Regions from separate parts of the Homo sapiens genome. Here regions 1, 3, 4, 5 and 6 are each linked to region 2. The links are contacts of gene promoters, found by promoter capture Hi-C in human tissues and cell types (Jung and others, 2019). All regions are on one chromosome and are shown on one strand. Each heading gives the region's core, a stretch centred on a gene start or on the middle of the fragment in contact. The rest is flanking DNA. Distances are from core to core; before and after follow the strand shown.

Region 1 (3,555 bases), core at 22-2,521, 310 kb after region 2:
CACTGTACCTGGCCTCTCCAATGTTATAGAACTGCAGCACATTGTCAAGGCCAGGCAATTAACGTTGAGAGAATACTGCTAACTGATCTGCACACCTTATTCCAATTTTGTCAGTTGTCACATGACTTTTCTTTTTCTGAACTGAGACTCAATCCAGGATTATACCTTGTTTAATTGTCGTCTCCTTAATCTCAGTCTTTCATTCTAGGACAGTCTGTCTTTGTCTTTCAGGACTTTGACTGATGTGATTGAAGAGTATTAGCCAGTTATTCTTTTTTTTTTTTTTTTTTTTGAGACGGAGTTTTGCTTTTGTACCCCAGGCTGGAGTGCAATGGCGTGATTTCGGCTCACTGTCACCTGCGCCTCCTGGGTTCAAGCAATTCTCCTGCCTCAGTCTCCCGAGTAGCTGGATTACAGGTATGTGCCACCGTGCCCGGCTAATGTTTGTATTTTTAGTAGAGACAGGGTTTCACCGTGTTGGCCAGACTGGTCTCGAACTCGCGACCTCAGGTGATCTGCCCACCTCGGCCTCCCAAAGTGTTGGGATTACAGGCATGAGCCACCGCGCCTGGCCCTTTTCCTTTTTTATTTTTTTTTTGAGATAGGACATCACTCTGTTGCCCAGGCTAGAGTGCCATGGTGCAATCTCAGCTCACTGCAACCACAAACTCCTGGGCTCAGTTGATCCACCCACCTCAGCCTTCTGAGTAGCTGGGACCACAGGCACATGCCACCACACTTGGCTAATTTTTATATTTCTTTGTAGAGATGGGGTTTCATCATGTTGCCCAGAGTGGTCTCAAACTCCTGGGCTCAAACAGTCCACCCATCTCAGCCTCCCAAAGTGTGAGATTGTAGGCTGAGCCACAGTTCCCTGCTGGTTGTTTTTAATATTTTGCTATTATAAACAATGCTGCAATGAATAGCCTTGTACATGTGTATATTTGTATTATTGTAGGCATGTCTTCAGGTAAATTCCTTAAAGTGGGGTTGCTGGATTAAAAGGTAAATACTTTTGTAGTTATTAAATGTTACCAGATTACCCTCCAAAAAGATTGGATCAATTTGTAGTCCTCCTAACAAAGTGTGGAAAGGCCCTTCTTCCCCACCAAGAGAATGTGTTATAATTTTTGCCAATTGTCTTATAAATGAATTTGGACATCTTTCTTAAGCTTAAGGAACATTTAAAAAGCTTTATTTGTAAATTGTCTCCTTATGTATTTTTCCTATTTTCCATTAGGCTTTTTTTCAGTTATCTCTTAATTTAAGAGGTCTATATATTAGGGATATTAGGCCTTTATGATACATGTTGCAAATATTTTTTTCTAATTTATCAGCTGTCTTTTCATTTTGTTCATTTATTATTTTTTTTAACTTCCAAGCTTAATTGAGTTTTTAATTTCTGCTATTATTTTTAATTTTCAAGACCCCTTTCTTGTTTTTGGCCATTCCTTTAGAAAAAGAATAACACCCTGTTCTTTTTTTTCAATGGATGTAATATTTGCTTTTGCTTCTTTGAGATAGTATTAGTTTTTTTTTTTTTTTTTTGAGACAGTCTTGGTCTGTCACCCAGGCTGGAGTGCAGTGGCTCAATTTTGGCTCACTGCAGCCTTCAGAACTCCCAGGTTCAAGCAATTCTCGTGTCTCAGCCTCCCGAGTAGCTGGGATTACAAGCACGTGCCACCACACCTGGCTAATTTTTTTGTATTTTTAGTAGGGTTGGGGTTTTACCTTGTTGGCCAGGTTGGTCTCGAACTCCTGACCTCAAGTGATCCGCCTGTCTTGGCCTCCCAAAGTGCTGGGATTATAGGTGTGAGCCACCACACTCAGCCCCCTCTTTTTTTTTAATTGTGGTAAAATATACATAACATAAAATTTACTATTTTGACCATTTTTAGGTGTACAGTTCATTGGCATTAAAGTACATTCGCATTGCTGTGCAACCATCACCACCATTCATCTCCAGGAACCTTTTTATCTTCCCAAACTGAAATTCTGTACCCATTAAGCAATAACTCCCTTTTCTCCCCCTCCCTGTTGGTTTATAAAAGTTGACTTTATATAGTTTTTGCTTTTATCTGTTTGTTTTGGTCTGTTTTTATCCCTAGACATCTGGTGATTCTTGGTCATCCTTTATTTTTTATTTTATTTTTTTGAGACAGAGTCTTGCTCTGTCGCCCAGGCTAGACTGCAGTGGTGCGATCTCAGTTCACCACAACCTCTGCCTCCCAGGTTCAGGCAATTCCTGTGCCTCAGCCTCCCAAGTAGCTGGGATTACAGGCATGCACCACCATGCCCAGCTAATTTTTGTATTTTTAATAGAGATGGGGTTTTGCCATGTTGGCCAGGCTGGTCTCGAACTCCTGACCTCAAGTGCTCTGCCCACCTTGGCCTCCCGAAGTATTGGGATTACAGGCGTGAGCCACCATGCCCAGCCCGTCTAGTTGTTTTTAATAATGACCACTAAGAAACTGCTTGGGAACTCTTAACACATGGTGGAATGTGTCAACTTTGGGGTACACTGTGGGCCATTTTGTGGGGTAATATCTGTATCTTTATGGATTTTTTTTTTTTTTTTGGTGGACTAGTTATAGTCTCCAGAAAAGAATCTTCAGTCTGCTTGTATGGGTGAGACAGACTGCTAGCATTCTGGGAGATGAGTGGCAAAGTGTGTTCGGAGTCTCATATGCAGTATATAATTCCATCTTCAAATTATGCCTGGAGTCCCTGTGTCTGCAGACTTTCCATTTTACTCTTTTTTGCATTTTACATTTCACTATTTTATCTAAAGGATAAACTTCCAATCTTGGGTGGGGGAGGGTCACTTACCTGCCATGTGGAGTTAAGTAGGGATCTGGAGTCTAACTGCTTCTTAAACTTTAGGCCACCCTATTGAGTCATTGTTCAGACTTATTTTGTTGTGACATCCCCAAATATCACTATCTGTTGGTTTTTTCTCCGTGAATGATCTGTTTTCCCCCAGGGACTAGTCGCCTTCTTGTGGGTATAGAGCTTCTTGCCAGTCTTATGGAAGCTGAGTGGGGAAGGGCCTGGAGGGGAATTCACGGTGTAAACTCATTTATCCTCCTGGTATACCCCTGTGCTCAGCTGTACATGATATACTGGACTATCCTGGGTCATCCTCCTCAGAAAGTGAAACTTTCATCATCTGCCACGGTAGGAGATGGTATCTAGGAGTTTCACTGCTTCTTATTCAGACTTTGAGCCAGCGTTTCCTTTTCAACACCACCCATACTCCTGACTTTCATAGGTATATGTTGCCTCTGCTTCTGAGCCTTTCTGCTTTCTGAGGTCCTATAGCTGCTGCTTTTTTTTTTGGAGACAGAGCTTCACTCTTGTCTCCCAGGCTGGAGTGCAGTGGCGCAATCTTGGCTCACTGCAACCTCCACCTCCCAGGTTCAAGCAATTCTTCTGCCTCAGCCTCCCAAGTAGCTGAGATTACAGGCACTCATCATCATGCCTGGCTAATTATTTTTGTATTTTTAGTAGAGACGGGGTTTCACCATGTTGGCCAGTCTGGTCTCGAACTCCTGA
Region 2 (3,501 bases), core at 407-2,906:
CTCAGGAGACGGTCTGCCGTTGAAAGTCACCTCAGCGGCTGGACTAGATTAGTAAGAATGACAACATCGCATCCTTCAAAGGCTCTGCCTCGGCTGCACTGAGACACGATAAAGGCCAGTCTTTAAAAACTGAGTGATCTCTAAACACTCTGCACTAGTCATACCACCACCGTCCCGTTCAAGAGTCTGTGCCTCTAAGGCTGTTCATTCTGTCTAGTTCATGATCCCTTTCTCAGATGGATCAACTCTGCTTATCCTTGAAGACTTCAAAGAAATTAGTGAGAGACAGTCACCATCACCAGAGTCAGCACAGGTCAACTTTTCTCTACAGGCTTGGGGTTTCTGAAGTTGGACTTGATGTGGAGAAGCTGGATAGCAACCAAAATGATTGAAGGGCTGTGGCGCTGGCACTGGTAAGAATGAAAAGAATTAGGGTTACTGGACTTGGTGAAAAAGACATGAGGAGAAGGGACAGGCAAATAATAATCAAACACCATGAATCAGAGGGTAGGGAAGGTAGCCACCGTTCCTTTGCTTTTACTAGAGACTAAGAAATGGATTATACATAGCAAGAAGCTTCAGAAAAGATTTCTTACTACATAAAGGTTCCAAGACATTGGAGTTGACCAAGGGAGTCTGTGAACCCTATTATTTTAATTACTCAGCTCATGGAGTTGTTTTGAGGATTACGTATATAAAAATCTGCGTAAATGACGTAGTATACAGTGCCTGGTTCACACCGTGGCTCAAATGATGGTTATTATTATTCTCTTACTAAGCATGCTTTAAAGGCTGTCGGAAAACTTTGGGGCCACCTAGGAAATCGTAGTATAATCAAATAATGCTGAAATTCTTGTGTGTGTGTGTGTGTGTGTGTGTGTGTGTGTGTGAGGTAGGGGCTCACTCTGTCGCCCAGGCTGGAGCACAGCAGGGCGATTACGGTTCACCTCAGCCTCGACCTCCCGGGCTCAGCCTCCCAAGTAGCTGGGACCAGAGGCGCACGCCACCACCCTCGGCTAATTTTTCTATTTTTTTGTAGCGACACTGCCTCGCAATGTTGCCCAAGCTGGGATGCTGAAATTCTTCCCCTTCCAAGAATCCATCTATAATTATAGCCTCCACGTCATTCTCCCTATTGGAATGTTTAATTGACTAAAACTACATTGCCTTCATCTGCTTACTAAGCGGTGGATCCAGTAAAGACCACATCTTGTCCAAAAGACGGCAGCACTTAATTAGCGCTCAAATGGCACTCGAACGTTTGGGCGAGGGGGTGTTCAGTCGCAGCCACCTTACTTTGCGAAGGCACACAGGGACAGACGTTCGCTAAGTGCCGATACTTAGGGAGAACGAGAGGGCCTGACCAGGTAAAGACGGCCTCCGCTGCCCAAGCTACACAAAAAGGTTGGGGAGCCAGGACCCGGCAAGCAAGGAGAGAAAAGTTTCATGCGTTGAGCTGGAGTCTGAAGCAAGGACCTAACGGACACAGGGAAACGTCACAGGAAAGGGAGCCCAGGAGAGCAGACGCGGAGCCACCAGACCAGAAAAAGGAAAAAGCACTGGAAAACAGCATCGAAGTCACCGGAAAGCAGCATCGAAGCCACCGGCGCCAGCCTCATACCTGCGCTTCCCGCTCCCCTCCTCGGCGCCTAGTGATAACCTCACCCGCCGGCGCCCAATCCCGTCGAGCGTCAGGCGTGAGGCGGCGCAGCCAAACAGTCACATCCGGGGCCGAGAGGAACCGCGAACGAGCTGGGCGTGCGCCCTTGCTTCGTGCCCTCAACCCGCATGGCGGAGCCGCTGGCGCGCCGCGGAGAGGCCGGGCGAGTCGGGCGGTTTCGGCGCCCGCGCTGAGCCGCGGAGGAGGGGCGGAGGACGCCCCTGCAGCCGGTGCGTCTGCCCTCAGTGAGGCGGGGCGCGCGGCGGACGCCCCCGGGCAGGGGCGGGAGTGGTGGAGGCGCCGGCGGTTGGCACTGACAGGGGCGGTGAGCGAGCCGCTCCGGTCTCCGGGCGAGGCTTGGCCTTCCGAGCAGAGACGGCGGGAAGCGGCGGCGGCAGCGGCGGCCCTAGGGCCGGCTGGTGAGGCGATGGCGGCGCCGGCCCCGGGGGCTGGGGCAGCCTCGGGCGGCGCTGGCTGTAGCGGCGGCGGCGCGGGCGCGGGCGCGGGCTCGGGCTCTGGGGCCGCGGGGGCCGGGGGCCGGCTGCCCAGCCGGGTGCTGGAGTTGGTGTTCTCTTACCTGGAGCTGTCCGAGCTGCGGAGCTGCGCCCTGGTGTGCAAGCACTGGTACCGCTGCCTGCACGGCGATGAGAACAGCGAGGTGTGGCGGAGCCTGTGCGCCCGCAGCCTGGCAGAAGAGGCTCTGCGCACGGACATCCTGTGCAACCTGCCCAGCTACAAGGCCAAGGTGAGAGAGCCCCGGGCCACACCGCTGCCCCCAGTCCCGCTCCCCGGCGTCGTTCGCGGTGTTTCTCATCCGAGCTTCTGAGTCAGAAGCTTCGCCTCACCAGCCCGCCTTTCCACGGCTCCAGTCAGTATCTTCCTCACCTCCCCCCAAGATAAAGATTCTCTTTTCTTTGGATCGAAGTTCTGCTCCTTAACCCATCCCACTTCCGTGATCCACTTTTCAAACAACTAGGTAGTTTGCCTCACTCATTCAACTTTTGACAGTTTTCCCCGTTAAAGACAGACCACCACTCTTGTACCTTTTAATGCCCTCATCCTACTTTTCTCCCCGGCCTCCAGATAGACTTCATTATATTAAATAATCCCGGCCACCTTAACATGGGCTTAGTTTCTAAGTTTCTAAGTTTCTAGTTTGCTTTCACTCCACGTTTATCTCATCTTTTCCAAGCTCTGATTTTTAACCATTTGTTTTCATTATTTTCCCCCAAGTTCTCTTTAGTTCCCTCCACTATATTGGAGGCTTACAAGTGAGTGTAGTTCTAGTCATCCTGCTCACTTACAAGATACAGGCTTTTATAGAACGTCCACGGGCACCACCTAACATACTGCTTTGTCCTGCTGTTATTGGCTGTTTCCTTGCTAACTTTTTAATAGTTCCACATTGATGGTGTCTCTCTTTTTCTATTTGTCATCTAACGTGCTGATTACAGTTTCGCTGCATCCTTCCTGCATATTCCGCCCGCCTTCATATACAAAATAAAAATGTCAAGGAACAAGTTGTGGTACGGCTGAAAGGACTCTCAGGCCGAATAAACAAAGGGTCTTGGTCTTGAGTTGAGTTGAATGGTTAACAGCTATTCAGTATAGCAGTCAATCAAGATCATATATAAGAGAAGATAAAGTCTGATTGCAATGTGTTAAACATAATGAATGCATTAGTAACTAAAACGATAACATCCCCCCCTTTTTTTTTTTTTTTGAGACGGAGTGCAATGGCGTGATCTCGGCTCACCGCAACCTCCGCCTTCCAGGTTCAAGCAATTGTCTTGCCTCAGCCTCCCGAGTAGCTGGGATTACAGGCATGCGCCACCATGCCC
Region 3 (3,487 bases), core at 90-2,589, 500 kb before region 2:
CCTGACCGACATGGTGAAACCCCGACTCTACTAAAAATACAAAAATTAACTGGGCATGGTGGCATGCGCCTGTAATCCCAGCTACTAAGGAGGATGAGGAGGAGAATCGCTTGAACCTGGGAGGCGGAGGCTGCAGTGAGCCGAGATCACGCCACTGCACTCCAGCCTGGGCAACAGAGCACAAGTCCTGTCTCAAAAAAAAACAAAACAAAACAAAACAAAATAAAAACAAAAAAAAACTTACTCTCTAGTGGTGAACCATTTGCGTCTTACTTTGATCTGCAGGCAGCCAATTGGAAACCATTAATTAAGCAATATTTTAAAACACTTCTCTAACTATGCGCCTTTCTGCCAGACATACTTACGTAGTTTATATTTGGAATACATACCAAGATGGACTCAAAATGAAGTTCTTCTAATATATAAAAGAATATTAATACACTTTTATGTTTCCCAACTGTCACCACTAACAAGGATAGTACACATTCTTAGCTCAGTTATAAAAAATATTCCTCAGCTGGGTGCGGTGGCTCACGCCTGTAATCCCAGCACTTTGGAAGGCCGAGGCAGAATTCCTTGAACCCAGGAGGTGGAGGTTGCAGTGAGCCAGGATCATGCCACTGCACTCCTGCCTGGGCAACAGAGTGAGACTGTCAAAATAAAAAAAAAATCTTGTGCTTCCCCTATCTAATTCCTCTGTGTTACCCAAATAATAGCTGCTCCTAAGGGGGCTTACTTACATAAATATAGGTTGAAACATTATTACTCCCCTACTACATAAGGATAAGATGGGACGCTGGCTTCACAGGTTGGTTACGATTTGTAGGTGGTAGGTAGAATGAGTCAAAAAAATCACCTATGCTAAATGCCTCTTAGCGTTATCAATAGTCATGGTATGTTACACACTCCCCTATGCTAAAGGCCTCTCAGCATGATCAACAGTCATGGTATTTCATATACTCCTTATATACAGATGTTCTTCATTTGAGACTATCAAGTAGAATATATTTTCACTATCCAATTATGTTAAAGAAACAGGATCAGAGAACCTATGTCATACAGGAGATAAATGCTTTCATAAAGGCCTGAAACTAGATCTCCATCCTGTAATAACAGGAAATGATAAATATGTCCACATCCAAATCAAAATTAATGCTACGTACTCTAATGGAACTGGGCTCTGTTTTTAAAGAGAGACACTAACGTTACAGGGAGGATATCCAGAGGAGCGAGCCACAACCATAAATGGTTTCTCTGGAAACCATCATAAGAAGCAAGGCTTCTCAATCTATAGACAAGGTAACTGGAATCATACCGTATTGCTTAGAAGAAAAATCCAGACAAATGGATGTTTCGGGGAATAGGATTTTATCCCAATATGAATTCTAACAGATTCTCTCTACTAACTGAATGGGCTGCTATAGGCATCGTGCTTCAGCACAGAAGTACTTGAGCAGAAGCTATGCCAGGAATCTTGCACAAGGAATTCACTGGGTTTATAAGTCTCCTTATTCTCCTGTGTTTATAAGTCCAAAGTCCATTATTAAGATCTCTTTATAGAGAAAAATTCATTTATATCTGTACCAAGGTAACAGCTAACCATCCTCCAAATTCCCAAATGTGGAAAATTATCATCATGTTTAACATTTTAATCAACATATTACCGTTCTTCCCTAATCATAAAACCTCACTATGCAAGACCGCTTTCAAATAAAAACTTACCCAAACAGCTTTTCTGCAGCAGCTCTGGAGATTGTCTGGACAGGTATATTAGGCAATCCTGATGACCGAGATGGTGGAAACTGAGTGTGATTGAAGGAAGGGAATCCAGGTGTGTAAGGGTCACCTGTCCCCAGATGAGCCTAGGAAAACAAAAGAGCAATTCACTCCATCACATACTTCCTCAAAACTTCTCTGTAAGATTCAGGTTTGGTATAAGGCTGCAGCCCAACCTTAGTTTACCAACTTGAAGCCTCAAAAATCTGAGTGGCTCTACAATGTGACTCCTGTTTTCATGGCATATGGAAATTCTCAAATTCAAGGCACTATTGACAAAGTACTTTTAGCAACAAATAATAAAGCCTCAAAGTCAATGTAATCTATCTTCTTGCTTACTGCTAACGCCCTCCCAGAAAAAAGAGCAGTTAAGGAAGACACAGTGCTATTTCTGCTAATACAGGAATCCAAGAACAACTCAAGGAACTCAAAACGGTGATTTACTCAAGAAATAACTCACATGTCCAAAGAATGAAAGTTCTGCGTTAACAATGGGAAATTTAGTCTGGTCCATGTATATCAACACACCAATTGCATTTAAGCTTTCAGCATTTGCAACCTAAAAGAAAACATATAAAGCTCAGAAAATGAAGATCTGATCATACGAAATGAGAATACATCCTGGACATTATGCTAAAGGCCAAATGGTTACAGAGGACTAAACTTATAATACTTCCAAATATTTCAAATTGTTTATCTGGTAATTTATTAATTGCTTCCTGAAAAATTAACTCACTTGTTTGCAAAATAAGAGTAACGGGCCAGGAGTGGTGGCTCACGCCTGTAATCCCAACACCTTGCAAGGCTGAGGCAGGGGGATCACAAGCTCAGGAGTTCGAGACCAGCCTGGCCAACATGGTGAAACCCTGTCTCTACTAAAAATACAAAAATTAACTGGGCGCAGTGGCTGGCGCCTGTATTCCCAGCTATTTGGGAAGCTGAGGCAGGAGAATCGCTTGAAACCATAAGGCAGAGGTTGCAGTGAGCCAAAATTGCGCCACTGCACTCCAGCCTGGACAAAAGAGCAAAACTCCCTCTCAAAAAAAAAAAAAAAAAAAAAAAAAGAATAACAAAGGCCAGGAGTGGTGGCTCACACCTGTAATCCCAGCAATCTGGGAGGCCAAGGCAGGTGGATCACCTGACGTCAGGAGTTCAAGACCAGCCAGGCCAACGTCGTGAAACCCTGTCTCTACTAAAAATGCAAAAATTAGCCAGGCATGGTGGTGGTGGGCACCTGTAATCCCAGCTACTCAGAAGGCTGAGGCAGGAGCATCACTTGAACCTGGGAGGCGGAGGTTGCAGTGAGCTGAGATCACGCCACTGCACTCCAGCCAGGGTGACAAGAGACTCCGTCTCAAAAAAAAAAAAAAAAAAGAAAAGAAAAATAACAAAAACCCATCTAAGACAACCACTTTTTTGAGTCTCACTGTCACTCAGGCTGGAGTGGCACGAGTCACATCTCACAACCTCCAGGGCTCAAGCAGTCCTCCCACCTCAGCCTCCTAAAGTGTTGGGATTACAGGTGTGAGCCCTGCCACTTTTTTTAAAAATGCAGAAATCACCACTGTCTTTTGATATGTTCCACTCTAGTTCCTTGTGTATGTTTGGCTATTAATTTTCCTTTTTATAAAACATGCTTTTAGCTGAATTCTGTATATGCGTAAAACTGAGTTATACAGAGAAATAGCTTTCACTTAAGCACTTCTGATTA
Region 4 (3,518 bases), core at 156-2,655, 260 kb before region 2:
CTCTGTCACCCAGGCTGGAGTACAGTGGCACAATCACGGCTTACTGCAGTCTCAACCTTCCTGGGCTCAAGAGGTCCTCCCACCTCAGTCTCTCAAGTAGCTGGGACCACAGGCGTGTGCCACCATGCCCGGCTAATTTTTGTATTTTTTTGTAGAGACAGAGTTTTGCTGTGTTGCCCAGGCTGGTCTGGAACTCCTGGGCTCAAGTGATCCTCCTGCCTCAGCTTCCCAAAGTGCTGGGATTACAGGTGTGAGCCACCACGCCCGGCCCTGATGGGAAACTTTATAATAGATGGATCCATCTGACAATATCTGAACTCCATGATCAACCTTAACAAAGCAAAAAGAGATGACCAGCTATTTTGTACCTTCTGAGAAGATGCAATAGGATGTATAGAAAACAGTATTTCCCCAACCTCAAACCTATGGCTAATTAAGACTAGATCTAACTACTTATTTTCAAGAAGTACAGGAAATAGAAGACATATTAAACAATACCATAGGTATATAATCAGCAACTGCCAGAATATAGGAAACTCTACAGGACAAACAAACCAATTTCTTCAACAAATAAATGGCAGGAAAAAATAAATAAATAAATAACTGACAGGGCACAGTGGCTCACGCCTGCAATCCCAGCACTTTGGGAGGCCAAGGTGGGTGGATCACCTGAGGTCAGGAGTTGGAGACCAACCTGGCCAACATGGTGAAACCCCATCTCTACTAAAAATACAAAAATTACCTGGGCGTGGTGGTGAGCGCCTGTAATCCCAGCTACTCAGGAGGCTGAGGCAGGAGAATCACTTGAACCCGGCAGGCAGAGGTTGCAGTGAGCCGAGATCATGCCACTGCACTCCAGCCTGGGTGAGGAAGCAAGACTGTCATAAAAATAAAATCAAATGGCAGGATTAAAAGAAGAAAGAGAGAAATGAGGCAGCAAAAACAACACATTGAAGTAAATTTAAAGCCAGATGCTGTGGTGTGCACCTATAGTCCCAGCTACCTGGCAGGCTGAGGTGGGAGGATCACTTGAGCCCAGGAGTTCTAGTCTGTAGTGTGTTATGATCACATCTGTGAATAGCCACTGCACTCCAGCCTGGGCAAGATAGCAAGATCTTACGTCTTAAAAAAAAATCCTAATTTACATATTAACCAAATGCAATGTGTGGACCTTGTTTGAATCTTAATTTGAAAAAATTGTAAAAAGAAAATAATAGGTCTGGCATGGTGGTTCAAGCCTATAAGTCCACCACTTTAGGAGGCCAAGGCTGGTGAATTGCCTGAGCCCAGGAGTTTAAGACCAGACTGGCCAACAGAGTGTGACCCATCTCTGCAAAAAAAAAAAAAAAAAAGAAAGAAAGAAAATTAGCCAGGTGTGGTGGTGCACACCTGCAGTCCCAGCTACTCAGGAGGCTGAGGCAGGAGGATCACTTGAGCCCAGGAGGCCAAGGCTGCAGTGAGTTGTGATAGTGCCATTGCACACCAACCTGGGTGACAAAATGAGACCCTGTCTCTTTAAACAAAAAAAAAAGAAAAGAAAGAAAACACATACATACATATATGAGGCATATCTGAATAATAACAGCATATTTTATGATATTAAGGACTGACAATATTTTAGAGATAATAAAGATATTTTATTTATTTATTTTTGAGACAGAGTCTTACTCTGTCACCCAGGCTGGAGTGCAATGACACGATCTTGGCTCACTGCAACCTCCACCTCCTGCGTTGAAGTGATTCTCCTGCCTCAGCCTCCTGAGTAGCTGGGACTACAAGCGCACGCCATCACACCCGGCTAATTTTTAGTAGAGACGGGGTTTCGCCATGTTGGCCAGGCTGGTCTTGAACTCCTGACCTCAGGTGATCCACCCGCCTCAGCCTCCCAAAGTGCTGAGATTACAGGTGTGACCCATCACACCCGGCCCTTCTCACTCTTGTAAAGGCACTCTTACTGAATTGTCCAAAGGACAGATACCTCATAAGAAATATAGATGACTAAAACAAGAAGGAAAATCCAGCTACTCACAATACTCCTTCACCTCTTTGTTCTCCAATCACTACTTGCACCACCATTTTGTATCGGTCAAATCCCATTTCTAGAAAGAAAAAATAAGGTTATTTATAAGCAAATATGTAGTAAAATTACTTATTGAAGACAAATTTGCCCAGAAATGGACATAAACATTCAATCCACAAGTACTTAATGAATATGGTGGTAAGCTTGGGGGTCAGGAGGACGTGAAGGCAGATCCTAACTATAACTCAGCAAGTGTATAACCTCAGAAAGTAATTTAACTTTTCAGTTTAAGTCTCCCTTATTAAACAGGAATATCAGTACCTACCTCCCAAGATTGTTATAAGGTTAGGTAAGATATAGTAGTATCTTTTTTTTGTTTTGTTTTTGAGATGGATTCTCACTCTGTTGCCCAGGCTGGAGTACAGTGGCACGATCTCAGCTCACCGGCAACCTCTGCCTCCAGGGTTCAAGTGATTCTCCTACCTCAGCCTCCTCAGTAGCTGGGACTACAGGTATGCATCACCACACCTGGCTAATTTTTGTATTTTTAGTAGAAAAGGTGTTTCACCATGTTGCCCAGGCTGGTCTCGAACTCCTGACCTCAGGTGATCCACTCACCTTGGCCTCCCAAAGTGCTGGGATTACAGGCGTGAGCCACCGCGCCCGGTCAGATATAGTAATATCTAAAGCATCTAAACAGTGCTGTTAAATACTAGTCCTTCAATAAACCTTAGCTTCCTTCCTTTTTCCCCTACTATAAGTCAGCTAGTGAGCTGAACCTTCAAGATAGAGAAATAAATAAGACGTTTTTCTTGCCTTAAAGAACTCACAGTAATAAAGAACTCAAAGGAAAATAGAAAAATAGGCCGGGCACGGTGGCTCACGCCTGTAATCCCAGCACTCTCAGAAGGTGAGGCCAGTGGATCACCTGAGGTCAGGAGTTTGAGACAAGCCTGGCCAACATGGTTAAGCCCCGTCTCTACTAAAAAATATAAAAATTAGCCAGGCATGGTGGCAGATCCCTGTAACCCCAGCTACTCGGGAGGCTGAGGCAGGAGAATTGCTTGAACCTGGGAGGCGGAGGTTGCAGTGAGCTGAGATCGCACCATTGCACACTAGCCTGGGTAACAAGAGCAAAACTCCATCTCGAAAAAAAAAAAAAAAAAGAAAATAGAAAAATAAATTATAAATTGAGTATGCTTATAATTCAAGGAGTGGCATGTATGATGTACATCAGGAACACAGAGCCAGTGGGGGCAGTTCCTCTGTTTGTCTGGGCAGTGGCAAGAAATCACTGGAAAAGACTTCTTGGAAGATGTGGCCGGCCAATAAACTGAGTCTTGAGGGCTGAGTAAGAGGGGACCAGGTCAGCCCCATCTCCCCACACGTCCGAGAACGAGGGGCATGTGCACAGCAGGAGAGCATGGGATCTCCAAGAAACTGTAAGCTGTTCAGTAAGACAGACAAGAAAAAAAATGAAGATTCCAGAGCAAAACGA
Region 5 (3,385 bases), core at 886-3,385, 340 kb before region 2:
GCATGTACCACCACGCCCGGCTAATTTTGCATTTTTAGTAGAGACGGGGTTTCGCTATGTTGGCCAGGCTGGTCTCAAACTCCTGACCTCAGGTGATCCACCCGCCTCAGCCTCCCAAAGTATTGGGATTATAGGCGTGAGCCACTGTGCCCCTCCATCTCATCTATTTTTAGGACACCAGTCAAATTGGATTAAGGGCCCACCCTATTCCATTATGACCTCATCTTAACTAATTACATTTGTAACAAACTGTTCTTAAATAAGGTCACGAGTACCGGGGGGCAGGACTTCAACATAGCTTTTTGGGGACACAATTTAACCTGTAACACGTGTGTTAGTTAACAAACCTTACATTTGTCTCCTTGCTTCTTCCTTTCCTTTTCTACCTATGACTTCCTAAAATCCTATAACCCATCAACACCAGCAGAAGCATTAGCATTAGCTACAGGACCTACCTACACCATGTGCCGGGCACTTTCACACATTACACTTCAATTTTCACAACCCCAGGAGTCATTTTTCCCATTTTACAAAGGAAGAAACAGACCCAGAGATGTTCTTGCTCAAAGGCACATAAGGAACGGGGCTAGAATTTATACCCAGGTATGTCTTGACTCCTCCACACATCTGTCTTCTCCTTACCCTGCCCTTCATCTTCACAACGCTTCTGAAAATTCTCTCAAAGGCATGTTGGCCCACCTTCTACGTGCTGCCTTCTCTAACCTCAAAGATGACTTTTCCACCAAATGCAATGACTTCTAACCCAGTCTTGTTCTCCTTCTCTCTCCATCCTGTCTCCTTGCTGGTCTTCTACTCCCAAGGCATAATGACTGCCCTACAGTTTAACAGAGTGAGTTCACGTACATTCTCATTTGATCTACGTACATGCCTCCCAAATGTGAACTTCCAGGCACATAGGAGGTAGAATGAAAGGGGCTATGGGAATAGAGAGAGAAGTCCCCGGAATGAGTCAGGGACTGAAGGGGCAGAAAGGTTCTGGGTCCCAGAAGTACTTGAGACCAGGCCGAAAGATAAAAGCCGTGTGATGGCCGAGCCTGCCCATGGTTAATGTGGGGGAGCCTGGGTGAGCCACGCCAGCCTTGAAGAAGCTGAGGTTTCCACACAATGTACTCAGGGAGGGCAATACTAAGATAAATGGTGCTTCCAGGGCTTCTGGACAGTGATCTTCTTCTTCTCCCCTTTTGCCTTCTTTATTTGGTGAAATATTGATAAAATTTGCCATTAATGATTTTGAAGTGTCAGGTTCTGTGGCATTAAGTACATTCCCATAGTTGCACTACCATTACCACCGTCCATCTCCAGGCACCCATTAAACACATTCCCCATTGCCCTCTCCCTGCAGTCTCTGGGATGGCAGAGCTTCCAAAGGGCATTTTAATGGTTAATTGTCCATTATTCTAGGAGCAGGGACCTCAGGCACTTGAGCTAGATGGAATGACTCTTCTCTAATCACCCATCTCTTTATCCATTGAGTGCTCATTGGTAGCCATGGCTGAGAAAGGGAATTAAAAATGAACCCTTTAATCAGTTCTTATATCTTGTCAGAAACTCTAATAAACTACTGGGTAGAAAATAAGAATGTCATTTGCCTAAAGATGAAAATCCCACAGATTTTTAATGAAGTGAGAGCCTCAACCCTCTGTGACTGCACAGATCTGACGGTGGGTGGAACCTGCCCAGCGGAAGGGCAAGGCCCGGCAGTGGGCTGGCTGCGTTCTGTGCCGTGAGGGCAGGCCCAGTCCACCCTTGCCTCTCTTTTATGTTCCGCAGGTTCTCCTCATCCTGACTGCCCTACAGCCCTCCATCTTCTCAGTCTTGGCCAACGGTGGGCAGATTGCTTGTTCGCCTCCCTATTCCTCTAAAACCAGGTCTCAAGGTGAGCACGTTAAGCCTCCTGTCCCATCGTGGGATGGATGAGACGGGGAGAGTCAGGAAAGAAGGGGCCCCAGAACAGACATTAGGCCAGCCTGACTTCTGCTCAGAGTGTTCAGAAGGGATCTTCGGGAAATCCCAACAGAGGCTTTAAGGAAACTATGACCTCTCTGATCACACAGAAGAGAAGTGAAACCCCACAGCTTGAGGCCAGCCCTGAGGGCCAACCCAGGAAGCCATGGGTTCAGTCCTCAGCTCCTGGGAGAGGAATGGGAATGGTTAAAAAACAGAAGCCCATGTTGATTGAACACACATAAGAAATGGACTGTATGCCAGCCTCAGAGCACAGAAGTAGACAGCCAACTTCCGGTTCTGGCTCTACCATTAACCCGCTGTGTTATTTATGACAATTTCGTATCCCTAAGTCCTGATTTGGGGATAAACTGGAGAAAGTGTTGCTCAACTCCCGTGCCCGGGCTGCTAGTAAAATACCACCTCTGTAACTCAGCATAACCTACGCTGTATTTCACCCTACACTGCAGTGATGAATTGCCACCTCCTCATACTGGAGACTTTTCTAATGACTGTGCTGACACGAATGTACTACCGAAGGAAAGACCACAAGGTTGGGTATGAAACTTTCTCTTCTCCAGACCTGGACTTGAACCTCAAAGCCTAAGGTGGATGGCTTGGACAATGAAAGGATGCTGTACTCATTAGAATACAAGATTCCTTTACTGTCCCTCAACCTTGACCAAATGGGAAGCATTCCCCCTTGTCAACACAAGCTGGCAGATACATTTGACTCTACAGATGAAGGTGAACAATGTTAGAATAAAATTGCTTTGGATCTTGCCTGGAAGGTGTTTTAAGTTTTGTAATAAACAAGATGATGTCTGAAAATGTGTAACTGGGCACCTTGCCTCTGTCCATGTCACTATTAACCCTTCAAGGTTGTATATTGCTGGCTAGGTGCGACAGCTCATGCCTGCTATCCCAGCACTTTGGGAGCCTGAGGCGGGAGGATCACTTGAGCCCAGGAGGTTGAGGCTGCAGTGAGCAATGGTTGTGCCATACACTCCAGCCTGGGTGATACAGCCAGACCCTGCCTCTGGAAAAAAAAGAAAGCTTACTGAGCTTTCCTAAAGCAGATGAAAAGAAGAGTATATAGTATTGTGTCTGGCATAAGAAAAGGAGAACTTGGTGAGGTGAAATAGCACCAGCCCAGAGTCTTGAAGAAGCCAGGGGCCCTGGAGAACAGATGGAAGGTGACCTTTCCCTGACAGGTGTGCTACTACGGCACCAACCACGCGGGGCCCTGGTGGTCTGGGTCAGCCTCACTTTGTGGGACAATGGCTTTTGAGTCTTCAGTGACAAGCTAGAAAAGGAATCTCCTGACACTGTGGTCATGGAGCTTGATTTCTAAGGAGAGAGTCAGCACGTGGAAGCAAAGGCACCGAGAGTCCAAGTAAAAGTCCCAAATCCATAAAAT
Region 6 (3,749 bases), core at 1,147-3,646, 340 kb after region 2:
GCAGGCGGATCACGAGGTCAGGAGATAGAGACCATCCTGGCTAACACGGTGAAACCCCATCTCTATTAAAAATACAAAAAAATTAGCCGGGCGTGGTGACGGATGCCTGTAGTCCCACTTACTCAGGAGACTGAACCCAGGAGGCGGAGCTTGCAGTGAGCCAAGATCGCACCACTGCACTCCAGCCTGGGCGACAGAGAGACTCCGTCTCAAAAAAAAAAAAAAAAGATAATGGAAGATGCTTATATTCCATTTGGGGTGGGAAAAATTACAAGCAGTGTGGGCAAAAAATATACATTCATGGAAAAGTATCTGAATGATAAACATGAGAGTGAAAGAATAAAGTCAAATATGTGAGTTGTTTCATTAAATAATAAACTAAATTATTCCTTCCTCTAGATCAGGGGTGTCCAATCTTTTGGCTTCCCTGAGCCTCACTGGAAGAAGAAGAGTTGTCTTGGGCCACACATAAAATACACCAACACTAACAATAGCTGATGAGCTAAAACAAAAAAAATTGCAAAAAAGATCTCATAAAAGAAAGTCTACAAATTTGTGTTCGGCTGCATTCAGAGCCGTCCTGGGCTGCATGCTGCCCGTGGGCTGTGGACTGGACAAGCTTGCTGTAGATCCTCTGAGATTGGGTTAAGTAAAAAAAAAAAAAACCCAGGTTTATGCTGAATATAAGAAGTATACATAAAATAATATGAAAAAGAAAGGTTGAAAATGAAGTGACATTTAAAGAGGCTGGGCGCTGTGTCTCACATCTGCAGTCTGAACACTTTGGGAGGCCTAAAATTACTGTAGATGGGAGGATTGCTTGAGCCCAAGAGTTTCAAATCAGCCTAGGCAACCAAGCGAGACCCCGTTTCTATAAAAAATTTAAAAAACTTAGCTGGCCATGGTGGCAGCCTGTGGTCCCAGTTATCCAGAAGGCTGCGGTGGGAGGATCACTTGAGCCTGGGAGGTCGAGGCTGCAGTGAACCCTGATCACGCCACTGCACTCCTGCCTGGGTGACAGACTGAGACCTTGTCTCAATTTAAAACAAATAAAAAAGGCAACTACAGGAAAGTTAAACAACCTGTTCCTGAATAACTCCTGGGTAAATAAAGAAATTAAGGCAGAAATCAAGAAGTTCTTTGAAACCAATGAGAACAGAGAGACAATGTACCAGAATCTCTGGGACACAGCTAAAGCAGTGTTAAGAGGGAAGTTTATAGCACTAAATGCCCACATCGAAAAGCTGGAAAGATCTCAGATCAACATCCTGACATCACAATTAAAAGAACTAGAGAAGCGGCTGGGCGTGGTGACTCATGCCTGTAATCCCAGCACTTTGGGAGGCTGAGGCGGGTAGATCACCTGAGGTCAGGAGTTTGAGATGAGCCTGACCAACATGGAGAAACCCCATCTCTACTAAAAATACAAAATTGGCTGGGTGTGGTGGCACATGCCTGTAATCCCAGCTACTTGGGAGGCCGAGGTAGGAGAATCACTTGAACCCGGGAGGTGGAGGTTGTGGTGAGCTGAGATTGCGCCATTGCACTCCAGCCTGGGCAAGAAGAGTGAAACTCTGTCTCAAAACAAACAAACAAAAACAACAACAAGGAAATAGAGAAGCAAGAGCAAACAAATCCAAAAGCTAGCAGAAAACAAGAAATAACTAAGATCAGAGCAGAACTGAAGGAGATAGAAACACAAAAAAACCCTTCAAAAAATCAGTGAATCCAGGAGCTGGATTTTTTGAAAAAATTAACAAAAAATACCTCTAGCTAAACTAAAGAAGAAAAGAGAGAAGAATCAAATAGACACAATAAAAAATGATAAAGGGGATATCACCATTGACCCCACAGAAATATACAAATTACTATCAGAGAATACTATAAAGACCTCTACACAAATAAACTAGAAAATCTAGAAGAAACGGATAAATTCCTGGACACATACACCTTCCCAAGACTAAATCAGGAAGAAGTGGAATGTCTGAATAGACCAATAACAAATTCTGAAATTGAGGCAGTAATTAATAGCCTACCAACCACAAAAAGCCCAGGACCAGATGGATTCACAGCCAAATTCTACCAGAGGTACAAAGAGGAGCTGATACCATTCCTTCTGAAACTATTTCATAACAATTGAAAAGGAGGAACTCCTCCCTAGCTCATTTTATGAGGCCGGCATCATCCTGATACCAAAACCTGGCAGAGACACAAAAAAAGAAAATTTCAGGCCAATATCCCTGATGAACATCGGTGCGAAAAATTCTCAATAAAATGCTGGCAAACCAAATCCAGCAGCACATCAAAAAGCTTATCCACCATGATCAAGTTGGCTTCATCCCTGGGATGCAAGGCTGATTCAACATATGCAAATCAGTAAACATAATCCGTCATATAAACAGAACCAGTGACGAAAACCACATGATTATTTCAGTAGATGCAGAAAAGACCTTCGATAAAATTCAGCATCCCTTCATTTAAAAACTCTCAATAAACTAGGTATTCATCAAACATATCTCAATAATAAGAGCTATTTATGACAAACCCATAGCCAATATCAGTGGGCAAAAGCTGGAAACATTCCCTTTGAAAACTGGCACAAGACAAGGATGCCCTCTCCCATCACTTCTATTCAACATAATATTGGAAGTTCTGGCCAGGGCAATCAGGCAAGAGAAAGAAATACAGGGTATTCAGATAGAAAGAGAGGAAGTCAAATTGTCTCTTGCAGATGGCATGATTCTATATTTAGAAAATGCCATCGTCTCAGCCCCAAAACCCCTTACGTTGATAAGAAACTTTAGCAAAGTCTCAGGATACAAAATCAATGTGCAGAAATCACAAGCATTCCTATACGCCAGCAATGGACAAGCAGAGAGCCAAATCATGAATGAACCCCCATTCACAATTGCTACAAAGAGAATAAAATACCTAGGAATACAGTTTATAAGGGATGTGAAGGACCTCTTCAAGGAGAACTACAAACCACTGCTCAAGGAAGTAAGAGAGGACACAAACAAATGGAAAAATATTCCATCCTCGTGGATAGGAAGAACCAGTATCTTGAAAATGGCCATACTGCCCAAAGTAATCTTTTTTTTTTTTTTTTTTTTTTTTTTTTTGAGATGGAGTCTCGCTCCATTGCCCAGGCTGGAATGCAGTGGCATGATCGTGGCTCACTGCAACCTCCACTTCCCGGGTTCAAGCAATTCTCCTGCCTCAGCCTCCCGAGTAGGTGGGACTACAGGCATGCACCACCATGCCCAGCTAATTTTTTGTATTTTTAGTAGACACAGGGTTTCGCCGTGTTAGCCAGGATGGTCTCGATGTCCTGACCTCGTGATCCGCCTGCCTCGGCCTTCCAGAGTGCTGGGATTATAGATGTGAGCCACCACTCCTGGCTGCCCAAAGTAATTAATAGATTTAATGCTATTCCCATCAAACTACCATTGGCATTCTTCACAGAATTAGAAAAAACTACTTTAAAATTCATATGGAAACAAAAAAGAGCCTGTATAGCCAAGACAATCCTAAGCAAAAAGAACAAAGCTGTAGGCATCACATACCTAACTTCAAACTATACTACAAGGCTACAGTAGCCAAAACAACGTGGTATTGGTACCAAAACAGGCATATAGACCAATGGAACAGAACAGAGACCTCAGAAATAACACCACACATACACAACCATCTCATCATTGACAAACCCGACAAAAGCAATGGGGAAAGGATTCCCTATTTAATAAATG

What was found. Contacts are between HindIII fragments. The study calls those that stand out against the background at their distance.
Region 1: a fragment that was not itself captured here is called in contact with the fragment with the promoter of WDR53 in region 2 in 1 of the 25 tissues and cell types used here (lymphoblastoid cells).
Region 3: a contact is called between a fragment that was not itself captured here and the fragment with the promoter of WDR53 in region 2, in 1 of the 25 tissues and cell types used here (lymphoblastoid cells).
Region 4: a fragment that was not itself captured here is called in contact with the fragment with the promoter of WDR53 in region 2 in 2 of the 25 tissues and cell types used here (lymphoblastoid cells and mesenchymal stem cells).
Region 5: a contact is called between a fragment that was not itself captured here and the fragment with the promoter of WDR53 in region 2, in 1 of the 25 tissues and cell types used here (IMR-90 fibroblasts).
Region 6: a fragment that was not itself captured here is called in contact with the fragment with the promoter of WDR53 in region 2 in 1 of the 25 tissues and cell types used here (mesenchymal stem cells).

Annotation. Positions count from the first base shown.
Region 1 is chr3:196,880,367-196,883,921 of GRCh38, forward strand. The region is part of intron 1 of SENP5 (SUMO specific peptidase 5); the gene reads left to right. Among named protein-coding and RNA genes, the nearest start is that of SENP5, 14 kb to the left of the region's middle. The HindIII fragment of the contact is 5,535 bases long and covers 1-3,555 here.
Region 2 is chr3:196,566,898-196,570,398 of GRCh38, forward strand. WDR53 (WD repeat domain 53) reads right to left here and starts at 1,657. Exons shown (of 4, transcript NM_182627.3): 1 at 1,622-1,657; 2 at 1-410. It overlaps FBXO45 (F-box protein 45), which reads left to right and starts at 1,763. Exons shown (of 3, transcript NM_001105573.2): 1 at 1,763-2,405. The coding sequence starts at 2,088. RefSeq lists enhancers at 1-998, 3,016-3,501 and silencers at 1,720-2,259, 2,381-2,675. The HindIII fragment of the contact is 3,803 bases long and covers 1-3,501 here.
Region 3 is chr3:196,065,796-196,069,282 of GRCh38, forward strand. It overlaps TFRC (transferrin receptor), which reads right to left. Exons shown (of 19, transcript NM_001128148.3): 8 at 2,237-2,335; 9 at 1,723-1,862. Among named protein-coding and RNA genes, the nearest start is that of TFRC, 15 kb to the right of the region's middle. The HindIII fragment of the contact is 3,924 bases long and covers 1-3,301 here.
Region 4 is chr3:196,304,914-196,308,431 of GRCh38, forward strand. It overlaps DYNLT2B (dynein light chain Tctex-type 2B), which reads right to left. Exons shown (of 5, transcript NM_152773.5): 3 at 2,030-2,099. Among named protein-coding and RNA genes, the nearest start is that of DYNLT2B, 12 kb to the right of the region's middle. The HindIII fragment of the contact is 6,550 bases long and covers 1-3,518 here.
Region 5 is chr3:196,230,628-196,234,012 of GRCh38, forward strand. It overlaps SLC51A (solute carrier family 51 member A), which reads left to right. Exons shown (of 9, transcript NM_152672.6): 8 at 1,792-1,897; 9 at 2,436-2,800. The coding sequence ends at 2,572. Among named protein-coding and RNA genes, the nearest start is that of SLC51A, 16 kb to the left of the region's middle. RefSeq lists enhancers at 1,925-1,994, 2,115-2,404. The HindIII fragment of the contact is 3,062 bases long and covers 605-3,385 here.
Region 6 is chr3:196,907,243-196,910,991 of GRCh38, forward strand. All of the region lies in intron 6 of SENP5 (SUMO specific peptidase 5), which reads left to right. Among named protein-coding and RNA genes, the nearest start is that of NCBP2-AS1, 31 kb to the right of the region's middle. The HindIII fragment of the contact is 7,535 bases long and covers 1-3,749 here.